Regions from separate parts of the Homo sapiens genome. Here region 1 is linked to region 2. Evidence: promoter capture Hi-C in human tissues and cell types (Jung and others, 2019). All regions are on one chromosome and are shown on one strand. Each heading gives the region's core, a stretch centred on a gene start or on the middle of the fragment in contact. The rest is flanking DNA. Distances are from core to core; before and after follow the strand shown. Region 1 holds the start of PLAAT5 (phospholipase A and acyltransferase 5). Region 2 holds the start of MARK2 (microtubule affinity regulating kinase 2).

Evidence for each region. The method cuts DNA at HindIII sites, captures the fragments that hold promoters and counts their contacts. A contact is called where the count stands out against the background at its distance.
Region 1: a fragment that was not itself captured here is called in contact with the fragment with the promoter of MARK2 in region 2 in 2 of the 25 tissues and cell types used here (dorsolateral prefrontal cortex and hippocampus).

Annotation. Positions count from the first base shown.
Region 1 is chr11:63,484,303-63,492,064 of GRCh38, forward strand. It overlaps PLAAT5 (phospholipase A and acyltransferase 5), which reads right to left and starts at 6,865. Exons shown (of 6, transcript NM_001146729.2): 1 at 6,585-6,865; 2 at 5,941-6,031; 3 at 4,569-4,674. The coding sequence starts at 6,732. It also overlaps the pseudogene LOC124902822. The HindIII fragment of the contact is 8,832 bases long and covers 1-5,966 here.
Region 2 is chr11:63,832,973-63,840,771 of GRCh38, forward strand. It overlaps MARK2 (microtubule affinity regulating kinase 2), which reads left to right and starts at 6,138. Exons shown (of 19, transcript NM_001039469.3): 1 at 6,138-6,588. The coding sequence starts at 6,535. It also overlaps the pseudogene ATP5MGP1. RefSeq lists enhancers at 1-194, 4,824-5,812, 6,073-6,222 and a silencer at 6,233-6,472. The HindIII fragment of the contact is 8,965 bases long and covers 1-6,235 here.

The DNA.
Region 1 (7,762 bases), core at 301-2,800, 350 kb before region 2:
TCACCTTAATACCAAAACCAGGAAAGGACATAAAAAAAAAAAGAAAACTACAGACCAATATCCCTGATGAACACGGATGCAAAAATCCTCAACAAAATACTAGTTAACTGAATCAAACAGCATATCAAAAAGATAATCCACCATGATCAAGTGGGTTTTATAGCAGGGATGCAGGGATGGTTTAATATATGCAAGTCAATAAATGTGATATATCACATAAACAGAATTAAAAACAAAAATCACATGATTATCTCAATAGACACAGAAATAGCATTTGACAAGATCCAGCATCCCTTTATGATTAAAAACCTCAACAAAATCAGCATAAAAGGGACAAACCTCAAGGCAATAAAAGCCATCTACGACAAACCCACAGCCAACATTATAGTGATTGGGGAAAAGTTGAAAGCATTCCCCCAGATAACTGGAAAAAGACGAGGATGCCCACTTTCACCACATTTATTCGACATAGTGCTAGAAGTCCTAGCCAGAGCAATCAGACAAGAGAAAGAAATAAAGGGCATCCAAATCAGTAAAAAGGAAGTCAAACTGTTGCTGTTTGCTGATATGATCATAGACCTGGAAAACCCTAAAGCCTAATCCAAAAAGTCCTAGAACTGGTAAATCAATTTAGCAAAGTTTCAGGATACAAAATTATTGTACACAAATCAGTAGCCCTGCTGTACACCAACAATGACCAAGCTGAGAATCAAATCAAGAACTCAACCCCTTCTAAAACAGCTGTAAAAAAAAAAAAATACTTAGGAATATACCTAACCAAAGACATGAAAGATCTCTACAAGGAAAACAAAACACTGCTGAAAGAAATCACAGATGACACAAACAAATGGAAACACATCTCATGCTCATGGATGGGTAGAATCAATATTGTGAAAATGATCATACTGCCAAAAGCAATCTACAAATTTAGTGTAATTCCCATCAAAATACCTATTCACAGAACTAGAATGAAACAATCCTAAAATTAGTATGGAACCAAAAAAGAGCCCACATAGCCAAAGCAAGACTAAGCAAAAAGAACAAATCTTGAGGCATCACATTACCTGACTTTGAACTATACTGCAAGGCTATAGTTACCAAAACAGCATGGTACTGGTATAAAAACAGGCATGTAGACCAATGTAACAGAATAGGGAACCCAGAAATAAAACAAAATACAGCCAACTGTCTTCAACAAAGCAAACAAAAACATAAAGTAGAAAAGGACATCCTATTCAACAAAAAATGCTGGGATAATTGGCAAGCCACATGTAGAAGAATAAAGCTGGATCCTCAACTCTCACCTTCTACAAAAATCAACTCAAGATGCATCAAAGATTTAAATCTAAGATATGAAACCATAAAAATTCTAGAAGATAACATCAGAAAAACCCTTCTAGACATTGGCTTAGGAAAAGAGTTCATGATCAAGAACCCAAAAGCAAATGCAACATAAACAAAGATAAATAGATGGGACCTAATTAAACCAAAAAGCTTCTGCACAGCAAAAGAAACAATAAGCAGAGTAAACGGACAACCCACAGAGTGGGAGAGAATTTGTACAAACTATGCATTCAACAAAGGACTAATATCCAAAATCTGCAAGGAAATCAAGCAAATAAATCAGCAAGGAAAAAAACAATCCCATCAAAAAGTGGGCAAAGGACATGAACAGGCAATTCTCAAAAGAAGATATACAAATGGCCAACAAACATATTAAAAAACTGCTCAACGTCACTAATTATCAGAGAAATGCAAATCAAAACCACGATGCAATAATACCACCTTACTCCTCCAAAATGGCCATAACTTAAAAATAAAAAAAATAATATGTGTTGGCATAGATGTGGTGAAAAGGGAACACTTTTACACTGCTGGTGGGGATGTAAACTGATACAATCACTATGGAAAACACCATGGAGACTCCTTAAAGAACTAGAAGTAGCACAACAATTTGATCCAGCAATCCCACTACTGGGTATCTAACCAGAGGAAAAGAAGTCATTGTATGAAAAAGGCACTTGCACATGCATGTTTATAGCAGCACAATTCACAACTGCAAAAATATGGAACCAGCCTAAATGACCATCAACCAATGAGTGGACAAAGAAAATGTGGTATATATATATATGCACACACACACACATACACACACACCACGGAATACTACTCAGCCGTAAAAAGGAATGAAACAATGACATTCACAGCAACCTGGATAGAGCTGGAGACCATTATTCTAAGTGAAGTAACTCAGGAATGGAAAACAAAAAAATCATATGCTCTCACTTATAAGTGGGGGCTAGCTATGAGGGCACAAAGGCATAAGAATGATGTAATCAACTTTAGGGACTCAGAAGGGAAGGGTGGGAGTGGGGTGAGGGATAAAAGACTACACATTGAGTATAGTGTACACTGCTCAGGTGATGGATGCACTAAAATCTCAGAAATCACCACGAAGGAACTTTTGCATGCAACCAAACACCACCTGTTCCCCCAAAACTATTGAAATAAAAATACAGATAAAAATGTATCAAATATGTAAATGTAAAAAACAAAACTATAAAATACCTAGAAGAAAACAGGAGAAAATCTTTGTGACACTGGATTAGGCAAAGGTCTCTTAGATACACCACCAAAGGCACTATTCATAGAGATTTATATGAAATCATGTTGTATGTCCACTTCTTTGGCGGTCTCCTTCATATAACTATTTTGAGTGACATCCGTGTTGTTGCTTTTTATCAACAGTTCATTCCTTTTTATTACTGAGCAGTATTTCATTACATTTCCGTTTTATAAAAGGAAAAGCTGACACATTGGACTTCATCAAAATTTAAGAACCTGTTCTGAAGAGACAAGCCACAGATGGAGAGAAAATATTATAAAGTATATATCTGATGACGTACTTGTATACAGAACTTCTGAAGAACTCTCAAAACATACAAACCAATAGGAAAAAATGGGCAAAAGATTTGAACACTTCACCAAAGATTATATATATGGATGGCAAATATACGCATGAAAAGACGTTCAACATTATTAGTCATTAGGAAAATGCAAATGAAAACCACAATGAGATACCTACACATCTATTAAAATAGCTAAAATTTAGAAGATTTTGACCATGCCAAATGCTGATGAACTGGAACTCTTATAAACTGCTGGTAGGAATGTAAAATGATACAACCACTGTGGAAAACAGTAAGTTAAGGTTAGAGCTCTTTTAGAATTTGTCTGGCAGGCTTGGAAAGCCCCAAAAAAGAAAAAAAAAATGTTAAGGAAAACAGTAAATTAAATATACATCTACCACATGACCTAGCCATTTCATTCCTACATATTCACCCAAGAGGAAAAAATATACAGTCTGCACAAAGACTCGTACATAAATGTTCAAGCAGATTTGTGATAGTCAAAAACTAGTAACAACTCAAATGCTCAATCAACAGGTGAACACATAAACAAGAGTGGTATATCCATACAATGAAATACTGCTCAGTAATAAAAAGGAATGAACTGTTGATAAAAAGCAACAACATGGATGTCAGTCAAAATAGTTATATGGGCTGGCTGCAGTGGCTCATGCCTGTAATCCCAACACTTTGGGAAGCCGAGGCGGGAGGATCATGAGGTCGGGAGATCGAGACCATCCTGGCTAACACAGTGAAACCCCGTCTCTACCAAAAATACAAAAAATTAGCCGGGCATGGTGGCAGGTGCCTCTAGTCCCAGCTACTCGGGAGGCTGAGGCAGGAGAATGGCGTGAGCCCAAGAGGCAGAGCTTGCAGTGAGCCAAGATCACGCCACTGCACTCCAGCCTGGGCGACAGAGCGAGACTCCATCTCGAAAAAAATATATATAGTTATATGAAGGAGACAGACAAAGAAGTGCACATACAATATGATTTCATATAAATCTCTAAAAATGTGAACACATCTATGGTGACAAAAAGCATATCAGTTGTTGCCTGGGGATGGGAGTGGTATGGGAAGAGAGAGGGATTACAAAAGGCACAAAGAAACTTTTGTAAATGACAGAGATTATTCATTATCTTGATTGTGGTGAAGATTTGACAGGATATATATATAGATGTCAAAATGTATCAAACTATACACTTCACTGGCATATATATATGCCAAATTTATCAAATTGTATATTTTAGATATGTGGAGTTTACTATATGTCAATTACACCTCAATAAAACTGCTTTAAAACAAAGCATAACCAACATCCCAAATCAGGATATTTATTAGACCATCTAAACCAAGTTTGTCCAACCCGCAGCCCACAGGCCACATACAGCCCAGGACAGCTTTGAATGTGGCCCAACACAAATTTGTAAACTTTATTAAAACATTATGAGACTTTTTTGTGGGTTTTTTTTTTTTTTAAGCTCAACAGCTATCGTCAGTGTTAGTGTATTTTATGTGTGGCCCAAGACGTTTCTTCTTCCAGTGTGGCCCAGGGAAGCCTAAAGATTGGACACCCCTAGAAACAAAGTAAAATACAATATGTAGAGAAGTTGCCAGGAGGTTAAAGATAGTCACTTTGAGAATTCTTGTTACACCTACCTCAGCTGCTTGCTTTATTAACTTGCCTTCATTCTCAGGCTTTGGAATTGAACTCCAGTCTGCTTTCTGGCTGGGTGTGGTCTCCAAGCTAACTACAGCCTTCTCCCTAAATGATTTTGCAATCACAAAGTTAACAAATATCACTATTTCATAATTATTGGAAAATCTGTATTACAGATTTGTGATTTTTAAGATGGCTTTTGGTTTGGAGACTGTAGGGAACATTTCCCCCCGTTTGTTTCTGTGAACCCATTAGCTTTCATACAAAAGAATTGCTGTTTGCTGGTTTTCTGACAATTGTTCAAATGCTAATGATAGCAAGAAGCAGTTTTGGGGGTTTTTATTTTTTAATTTGCTAATAATGTCTTTTTAATGTTTATCAAAGTGATACTTGCACATGGTTTCCAGTACATAAGAATTTATAATGAAATGCAAGGAGCCTTCCTCCTTTCCCTTTTCATCCCAGCCCTACTGCCCAGAGGCAAACCCCTTGAACTCTTTCTTCCAATAATTAGCCCCAGATTTCTAAGAAAGCTTGATAAGCCACAACACTGCAACTGCAAGTAATATGAATGAAATCAGTATATTTCTCCCTTGAAACAAAATGTTACAGGAGAGGACAGAAATGAAAGGCAAGAATATGCTTTCAAGCATATTAAATTAAGGTAGTATAGTAGAGTAAAATACTTCGAAGCCAAAAGATCTAGGTTTGAATCCTAGCTTTCATGATTGCTGTCCCACCTTGAGCTAGTAAATTAATGTCTGACTCTCAGCTTGATTATCTTTAAAAATAGAGATGAAAATGTGTCTCACAGTGGTCAAGAAGGTGAAAGGACACAGCACATGTAAACATCTGGTATACCACCAACTCAGAAATGACTTTTTCTTTACCTTTTCCCATGCTTTAAACTCTTCTCCAGAAAAAAATAGTGTGTGGGGCAGAGGGGACACCCCTCATTTTCAGTAGAGCTCCTCTCCAAAATTTCAGCCCCTCGGAATTTTTTAAAGCAGCAATCATCATGTTGTTAATGAAAGTGAATTCAGGAAATCTGCCAAAGGCCGACTCATTGTTCACTGATTAGTGAGACCAAGGACAATACTGTAAGCCTCCTGCTAAAGCCATTCATTTCTCTGGGGTCTAGAGAATGGCCTTGTGGCTAGAAACAGCTGCAACGCATGCCTGTGGCCAGCAGGTCCCAAGCCCAGTACCATCTGTTATCACCCAGGATCACACCAGCCTTCCCCTTGCTGGGTACCGGCTGGCTGGTTCACACAAAAACCACCTCTGGGTTTGTTTTACAGAACTGCATTCCAAGTCAATTCTCCAAAAGATTTCTTCCACCCAAAGACCCCAACCTTACAATCTTCTTACCCTTGCTGGATGCTTCTGCCCTGTTCTAATGTGCCCGGCGGAGGCTGCTTGGCTGGGAGCTGGACCAACGCTGCGAATCCCACGGATTCTTCTAATTCAAGGGGGGAAATGCTATTTAGACCTGTGAAAGGAGAGTTCGAGCAAGCACCTTGACCGCTACGGAGAGTGGGCTCAGAGCTCTAGTCTAGCATCGTGCCTGGCCCCTGGTTAGGCCTCAGAAAATCTTGGGATGAATGGAGAGGGTTGTGGAACTAGGTGCTGGAGCGGGTTCAGTTCCTCTGCCAAAGAGAGACTTTGGGATTCCTGGGAACGGAATCGGGGAGAGGATGAAGAAGGGCGCCTCGCCTCTATCCTAAGCCCGATGGGAGGAACCTCTGCCGAGCCAGAGCCGGTCTTAACACCACCCTCCGGAGCTGCCACCACTGCCTCACTTCCATATGAGATATAGCGGGAAGGAGGGAGTGGCTGCCTGGCTCGCTTTGATTAGCTTTATAACAAGCGGTCGTTCTGAAATACTCGCTCATGATGGCTAACAGACAACACAATCGCCAAATGTCTTAAGAAAAGGAGCTTTGAGGGTAACCGCCCGCTGGGACCTGAAGGACAATTGCGGATTGTCCTTCAGCCGCATTCTTGGGGCTGACCTGAGTGGGGCACAGCTGAACGTCTGAGCGCAGGCGGCTGGTCCTTGGGCCCGGTACTGGCGGTTCGCGAGGCGGGTTTGGGGAGGGGTGGGGGAATCCTAGGGAGGCGGAGCGCGTACTCCCCCTCGGCGCCCGGGCTCAGGCCCATCCCGCCTCTGCGGCCTCGCCGGCCCCCAGGCCTTGCAGGGGACTACGCCCCTGGCGAGTTCCCAGTCGGCGCGGCCCCTGGTCGGCGGAGCCGCGGAAGCTTGGGCACTGGGGGCGGCTCGGGGAGGAACCGCGGAGGGGAAAGCGCCGCGGGCTGCAAACGGCAGAGGCGCGCGGGGTGGCGACAGTGGCGCGGGCGCAGTGAGCGCGTCCGAGAACAGAATGGGACGAAACGGGGCGCTTAGAGGCCCGGGAATCTGTGGGTCTTTTAGGCGGAGAGGGGCGAAGGAGGTTATTCGTTTTGGGGAAGGTCATGGAAACAGCAAAGGCTCAGAGGTGGTGCCTAAAGTGGCTGGAGAAGCTGAACGGTTTGGAACAGAGGCGTGACTTGGAGGGGTAAATGGAGACCAGATTAGGAAGCCTTGGGAGGCACAATCAGGGGTTAAAATCTTGAACAATTCAGAGTTGTTTTATTTTTAAAAATATATAGAAAATGAAATCTACACTTACGTAATAGATAACTTATGAAAAAGTACATGGAATACACATGTTGCAGTCTTGCCAATGTACCTTAATGTAGCAGTTTCTCCTTGTCTGGACTGATACCCGGGATTCTTTGTCCTACTCCAAGAAAATTAAGGAACGGGACATAAGGTGAGGTGGGAGCGAAAGTTTAATAAGCGAAAGAAGAAAGCTCTCCACAGTGAGCTGAGTATGCAAGTGGATTGCCCTGTTACAGCTGAATTCAAAAGCTTTTGCAAGAAAATCTCTTATCTCTGTAGTAGTTTGAGTAACTTCTCTTATCAGTAAAGCTGTCTTACGCAGCTGTGGTTATGTATCTATGCAAGCACAAAGCACCGCCTTTTTTGTTTGCATAACTGTGGGTTTGTTTTAGGTAAGCCCCCCTCCTCCCTGTGAAAGTTCCCACCATGTATATGCCTGAAAAGGGGAGAAAACTTTCCTGGGAGCTCCCTAATTATACAAAGAACAAAAGGCTTCTGTGCTGGACCCTGTCTGCTTATCTGTGTGCA
Region 2 (7,799 bases), core at 4,888-7,387:
AGAGGAGCCAGCCTTTGGGTTCCCAACACCAATGTCAATGGCTTGGATCTCCTCCAGCCCCACATCTGGTGGGGGTGGGCAGAGGAAGCAGGAAAAGCAGGTGTGTGATGGGAGATGGGGTAACCACCCTGTGTTGCTTAGATCACACAAGCATCAGTGAAGGACCCCATGGGCAGGCACTGTTAGAAACTATGGGGTACAGACAGGACACCTACCCTGGCTTCATCACAGATCACCTCATATTGTGCCCATTATACAGGTGAGGAAACTGAGGTACAGTGAGATGAATGCAGTGACTTGCCTGCCATTCCAGAGCTAGTAAAGGAACAGCTCTGGCCAGGCATGGTGGCTCACGCCTGTAATCCCAGCATCTTGGGAGGCCAAGGGGAGGCGGATCACCTGAGGTCAGGAGTTCAAGACCAGCCTGGCCAACATGGTGAAACCCCATCTCTACTAAAAATACAAAACTTAGCTGGGCATGGTGGCAGGCGCCTGTAATGCCAGCTTGGGAGGCTGAGGCAGGAGAATCACCTGAACCCAAGAGGCAGAGGTTGCAGTGAGTGGAGATGGTGCCACTGCACTCCAGCCTGGGCGAAAGAGCAAGACTCCATCTAAAAAGAAAAGAAAAGGAAAAAGAAAATAAGAAAAAAGAAACAAAAGGGAAAAGGGGGTCTTACTCTGTTGCCCAGGCTAGAGTGCAGTAGTGCAATCATAGCTCACTGCAACCTCAACCTCCTGGGTTCAAGTGATCCTCCCACCTCAGCCTCCCAAGTAGCTGGGACTACAGTTGTGCCACCATGCCTAGCTAACAGGGGTCTCCCTATGTTGCCCAGGCTGGTCTCAAACTCCTGGACTCAAGGGATGCCCCCCACCAAATTTGGCCTCCCAAAGTGCTGGGATTACAGGCGTGAGCCATCACACCTGGCTTTTATTTTATTTATTTATTAATATTTAGAGACAGGGTCTCACTCTGTTGCCCAGGCTGGAGTGCAGTGGTGTGATCATAGCTCACTGCAGCCTCGACCTCCCAGGCTCAGGTATAATCCTCCTACCTCAGCCTCCTGAGTACCTGGGACTACTGGCAAATTTTTTGTATTTTTTGTAGAGACGGGGGTTTGCCATGTTGCCCAGACTGCTCTCGAACTCTTTAGCTCAAGCAATTCATTCACCCACCTCAGCCTCTCAAAGTGCAGAGATTATAGGCATGAGTCACCATGCCGGGTCAGGCCTTAATTTTTTTAAGAAAAGGGCTAGGTGCCATGGCTCACGCCTGTAATCCCAGCACTTTGGGAGGCCGAGGTGGGCAGATCATGAGGTCAGGAGTTTGAGACCAGCCTGGCCAATATGATTAAACCCCGTCTCTACTAAAAATACAAAAATTGGCCAGGCGTGGTGGCGCACGCCTGTGGTCCCAGCTACTCAGGAGGCTGAGGCAGAAGAATCTCTTGAATCCTGGAGGTGGAGGTTGCAGTGAGCTAAGATTGCACCACTGCACTCCAGCCTGGAGACAGAGGGAGACTCCATCTCAAAAAAATAAATATATAAATACGTAAATAAATAAATTTAAAATTTGAAATGTTTTTAAATTTAAAATTTTTGACACATTTTATTCAGATAGTAGTCTGATCACATATGGTCTAAGAACAGTCAAATCATAAATCAAATATAAATCAAATGTTAAAGATGGATCTTCAAACATTGTAGCCAGTGATGCCACACTCACCTATGATCTCTGTGACATAAAACCACATCCACACCCCAGTGACCTCTGAAACATTCAACACAGCTTCCTTGACTGTGAGCTGTTTGAAGCTACCAGTTTGAGCGCTATTGACTTTTTTTTCCAGGCCCTGAATAACTCTAGGGATCTCAGCAGGGTTTGGAGGAACCAACTCCACCTCGGCGTAGTACTGAAATGTGGCCAATCAAGGCTTCAACTGAGTCACAGCAGCGTTCACCAGTACCAGGGCCTTCTCTGGCGAGGTGGTGGACAAATCAGGTCATGGTTCTAGGATGGAAAGTCTGTCGCCCCGAAGGGCCCGCTGAATGCCAACACCTCCCGGCAGTTTTACTCTCTGTGTGTGTTTTGTTTTCAGTTGTTCAGGCGGGAAAGCCTGCAATCGTCTTTAACTCCCCTCTTTCATAACCCCAACCCATCCGAAAGCCTGTTGGCTGTACCTTTCAAATATGTCCCAAATCTGATCACTTCTCACTACTTCCACTGCTGCTGCCTGGCCCCAAGCCACTGGCATCTCTCCCTTGAATTGTTGTAAAAGCCTCCTTGCTAGTGCCCCGGGTCTGCTTCTGTCATGCCCTTTCACTCTGTTCTCAGCCCAGCAGCCAGTTAGATCATGTTACTCCGGCGGCAACTCATCCCACTCCCAGGGAAAACCACAACGGTAGCCCACCAGGCCTGGTTCCCGTCGCCACACACCTACCTCCTCACTCACTCTGCTCCAGGCTCATTGGCCCCTTGCTCTTCAAACAGGCCAGGTATGCTCCTCTGGCTGGGTTCCTCTTCCCCTAGATGTCTGCAGAGCTCATGCCTTCACCTCCTTCAAGTCTTTTTTTTTTCTTAGCCTCCCAAAGTGCTGCGATTACAGGTGTGAGTCACCACGCCCGGTCTCCTTCAAGATTTTACTCAAGTGTCACCTTCTCAGTGAGGGCTCATGAACCCCCTCAGTACTGTAGCTTGTCTTCCACCCTCTCACCCCTGTAATCCTGGCTTAACTGGCTCTGTTTTTTTCTGATATCACTTAATACTGACTCTTTTGTTTGTTGTATGTCTTCCTCAAAATGAAAAGTAAGCTCCCCAAGGGCAGAGTTGTTTTTTTTTTGTTTTGTTTTGTTTTGTTTTGAGACAGAGTTTCTCTCTTGTTGCCCAAGCTGGAGTGCAGTGGCGTGGTGATCTCGGCTCACTGCAACCTCTGCCTCCTGGTTTCAAGCGATTCTCCCGACTCCACCTCCCAAGTAGCTGGGATTACAGACGCCCACCACCGTGCCTGGCTAATTTTTTGTGTGCTTTTTTTAGTAGAGACGGGGTTCCACCATGTTGGCCAGGCTGGTCTCGAACTCCTGACCTCACATGATCCCCTCACCTTGGTCTCCCAAAGTGCTGGGATTACAGGCATGAGCCACCGCGCCTGGCAGGCAGAGATCTTTATCTTGTTCACTGATCTACCTAAAAGCCTAAAACAATGCCTTGCACATAGTAGGTGCTCAGTAGGGATTTGCTGAATGAATAAATGAATTTGCAGATTTAGAGAGGGGGTAAATGTGTGGCAATAATTCATCTTTGAGGAGAACTAGGAGGGTTCATGGATTTGAGTAGGTGAGATTTGAACTGGATCTTGAAGTGGTTCTGGAAGCTGAGGTGGATGATGGGCAATCATCTATCAGCTTGACCAAAGGCATGGAAGTGAGAGAGACTGGCAGCGGGGTAGGAGTTAGGGAGAAGTGTGATCAGTGATAGTTGGAGAGGTTATTGTAAGGCAATGTGAGGCCAGATTGAGCAAAGTTTTAAATGCAGGCTAAAGGCTTTTCCTACAGCCAGGACCAGCTACATAATTTGTGGGGCACAGTGCAAAATGGAAATGCATGGCCCCCTTGGTCAAAAATTTCAAGATAATGGGCCGGGCGTGGTGGCTCACGCCTGTAATCCCAGCACTTTGGGAGGCCGAGGCAGGTGGATCACTTGAGGTTGGGAGTTCTAGACCAAACTGGCCAACATGGTGAAACCCTGTCTTTACTAAAAACACAAAAAATTAGCCGGGTGTGGTGGTGGGCACCTATAATCCCAGCTATTCAGGAGGCTGAGGCATGAGAATCACTTGAACCTGGGAGGTGGAGGTTGCAGTGAGCTGAGATCGCACCACTGCACTCCAGCCTGGGAGATAGAGCGAGATTCAGTCTTAAAAAAAAAAATTTCAAGATGGTGACAGCAGAGCATTAATCCAAGCTCAGGGTCCACCTGAGCACAGGGCTCTGTGTGACTGCATGGGGTCGTGGGCCCAAGAAGCCAGCCCTGCCTATAACCAGTGAGGGAGCTGGTGATAGCTTTCTAGCAGAGCAGAGATGTTATTGGAGCTGGACTTTGGGAAGATTATTCTGACATGTCTGGTGCAGTAGGTTGGAGGGAGTCTAGGCGGGGAGACAAGCTCAGCAGCCTTGTGCAAAGCTAGCAAGGAAGAGAAAGGATAGGTAGGGTAGGGGTTGGGGATGAAGGTCAAAGGGCAGGGGTGAGGCAGGGGTTAGAGCTAGAGTGAGAAGCTTGGAGAAGATGGAGTCTATTTAGACGAGAGTGTGGACCAGGGAGAGACTGCTGGAACACCAACCACCAACTGCTTCCTCTCTCTTTTCCCTGCTTTCCAGACCCTGGCATTAGAGGTGATACCAGGCACAGGAATCAGCAACGTGTCTCCCTTTGGCCACCAGAGGGCAGATGATTCTCAAGGATCGAATTTGGGTTGGGGAGTGAGGTGTTCTCTGTCCTCCTCTTCTCTCTTTCCCTCACCTTCATGGGTGTGCCTTCACCTTCTTCCTCAACGGTTGGGTGCCTGAATAGAGCTGGTATGGGGCATGGGGAGCAGTGCTGAAGTCCCAGGATTTACTAAGAGTGTAGTGATACCTGTTGCCTTAGGAAGTACTTTCATACCCTGGTAATTACATCTGCTCAGATGCCTATTTCTCTGATTGATGGGATGAAGGCTGGCTCAAGATGCTGTAGCTGGGAGTTGGAGGTCAAGTAGCAGGGGTCCAATCAGCAGTTTTCCCAATAACTCCTGGAGCCTCTCTGCTCCTGTACCTTTGGGAACCTGTTGCCTGAGTCTGGTTTCTGACTCCTGCGGGGCCTCTGCCTCCTGCCCACCTTAAGCCACTGATGGGAGGGTGTGGTTCCAACGTGTTCCAGGTACTATGGGTGAGGACAGCTTGGCGCTGGGGAAATCAGCCCAGGATACTCCCTGTCCTTGGTAACGCAGTGTAAGGGGAAGTGAGGAATGGACTGCAGTTGCCATACAGACTTCCTGTTAGTCAAGGGCTCTCCAAAGCTGAGAAGGACCTCCGAGTTCATGAATCCAATGGCTTCACTTTACTGATGGGGAAAATGAGGCCCAGAGGAGGAAAGAAAAGAAACTTTAAATGCCTTATCTTGCAGAGGCATTTTAAAAGGTAACTGGAATTCAGAAATGTCATTTTGAATGTCAACGCAGGAGCAAAGGCAAAGGAAAGAGGAGCCTAAACTCAGTGATGTTATGTGATTTTTCCAAGATCACGCAGCATTGGCACTTGGCAGAGCTGGGGCTGAAATGCAGGGCCCTGGACGCTCCCGCATCCGGTGCAGAGGACGCTGCCCTGGGCCTGCCTGGGGCCTTGCCGAGCCCTGCGGACTAGATGCGGGAATGCACGGATGAATCCACAGAAGCCAAGATAGACGGTGGCAGACAGGCAATAGACTGATGCTGCATTTGACAGGTATATTGATAGGCTAGATGATAAAAAGAAGATGAATTTTATGAGCTGACCGACAGATGGACAGAAATGCAGACAGGAAGCTGCTATAGAACCAGAGGATGCCAATCACAGGGACGGCTAACAATCTTGTTTTGTATTTAGTCAAATCACAAGCACAGACAGGTGACCCACGCTTCCTGTTCAAGGTTTGAAAATGCCCGAAAACTGACGGAAAGACACGAAGCGAATCAGACTCCGAGAGCCACCCGGGGAAACGACCGGGTGCTCGGAGGGCCTCGGGTGTTGCCGGAAATGGCCGACGACCGCCCTCGGCAGGGCTGTGGGAGGGGGCGTGGCCGGCTCAGCACGCGGAGCAGCTTCGGGTATTTCCGGAAACTGCCGAAAGCCCCCTTGAAGTGGGCGGGGAAAGGCCGGTGGGCGTGGCTGGATGGCCGTGGACGGGGGCGGGGGGTAGGCACCCGGGGTCGCTTCGTGGATTTCCGTAAACAGAGCCGAAGCTTCGTCTTCGGAATCGAGGAGGAGAGCGCGTCCCCGGGGTTTACCTTCTTCGGCTGTTTCCGGAATTCACCCGTAGTCTGTGGCCGGGAGGAGAAGGCGCGCCCCACCTCCCGTTTCTAGCCGCTTCGGATGTTTCCGGCTGCTGCCGGCGAAAAGAGCCGAGGGCCGGCGGTGGTGGCGGCCATGTTGGGAGCAGCAGGTCCGGCGGCGGCTGCCTGTGTGCCGGGCGCGGAGCAGTGCCGCTGAGGGCAGGGGAGGAGCGAGGCAGGCGGCCGGCTGCGGCGGCAGAGAGTAGGCGGAGCGGCGCGGCCCGGCCGAAAGGCGGCACAGCCCAGCCGGGGGTCGGGGGGGTGCGGTCCGGAGCCGCTCGGAGCCGGCGCGGCCTAGCCCGAGCGGCGCATCCCCGGGCTGGCGTGAGCGGCTGCCCGGCCTCCCCGCACCCCCGGCCGGGGCCCATGCGGCGGGTGCTCCTGCTGTGAGAAGCCCCGCCCGGCCGGGCTCCGCGCCTTCCCTTCCCTCCCTTCCTCCAAGCTTCTCGGTTCCCTCCCCCGAGATACCGGCGCCATGTCCAGCGCTCGGACCCCCCTACCCACGCTGAACGAGAGGGACACGGAGCAGGTAAGGAGCCCCGAGGGCTCCCCGAATTCTCTGGCTGGGCCCTTTGCACCTTGCGGAGCCTCCTCCCTCTTCTGCTCTCCTCGTGCCCCTGCTGCCATCCTGCAAGCCTCGGCTGCCCTGTCATCCGGCTCCTGGCTCCGGCTCCGCACATCCCGCTTCCGAGTCCTGACCTGGGACCCACCTCGTCCTGACTCCAAGCTGCACACTTGTCTTTCTGCCAACCCCCGTCTCCCCTCACCGCCCTCCTGCGCTCTTCCGTGTCACCTCCCCAGCTTCCCTTTCTCTTCCCTTTTTCTCTCAGGGGCCTTTCTGGTCTTCCTCCACCCACGCTTAAAGCAGCCACCCTCCCGCTCCTCGAATAGCAGCACCCCGCGATTTGCCACAGATCGTTGTCCACCTCTCCCTTCGTCTCTCCTGCCTCGCTTCCCCTCCGCCCGCACCGGTTCTGCCAGTCTCTGGGTTATCACCCTCAGGGTCCTTGCCCTGGACTGCGCTCTCGATCCCTGGCCCCTTGCAGTTCCCCCAGCTTTTTCTACCCTGCTTCTTCGTTTTCCAAATTGTGCTCTCCCTCTTGCTTGCAACCCACCAGCTCCACCCTCATCACCTTTCCAAATCCTTCGCCTACTCTTTGCTCATCACTTTCCCTTCTTTGCTCCAGGAGCTCCCTGGATCCTGGCGCTGGCATTTGTCGCTTCCGTGTTTCCCCACAGCTGTCATGCGCATAGTTTTCCCACAGGTTGCGTTTGGGGTTCCAATCATCACTCCCTTCAGAGTCTTTGGATCCCTCTTGTTCTCTTCCCCTCGGGTTTGGCTTTTAGGTCCCTGGGCCTCTTGTTTCTCTCTGTGAGTGTTCTACCAGCCTTCTACTGGGCTCTTTCTCCCAACCCAAAGACACTTGGCCCCACCGTATTAACACAACCTGTTGCTCAGTCCTTTCCCAGACCTCGCTGCATCACAGTTTTTGCCTTTCTGTCTTCGTACGCTGGAACACAAACCATGATGACTTTCTGTGTCTTCACTCCCGTGCCTGGCACTTAGAGTATTTTCTTTCTTGCTTGTTGCCTTCCTGTTTCTCCACCCTCACCCCATCTTCCTTACTGTGCCTTTTAATCAGCGTTGCCTTTCATCTCCGCATTAGTCTCCTGCCTTCTTCATGTCCTGTGTATCCCCACACCGTGCTTGGATCCATTCTGTTCCTATTGGCTAAGTCT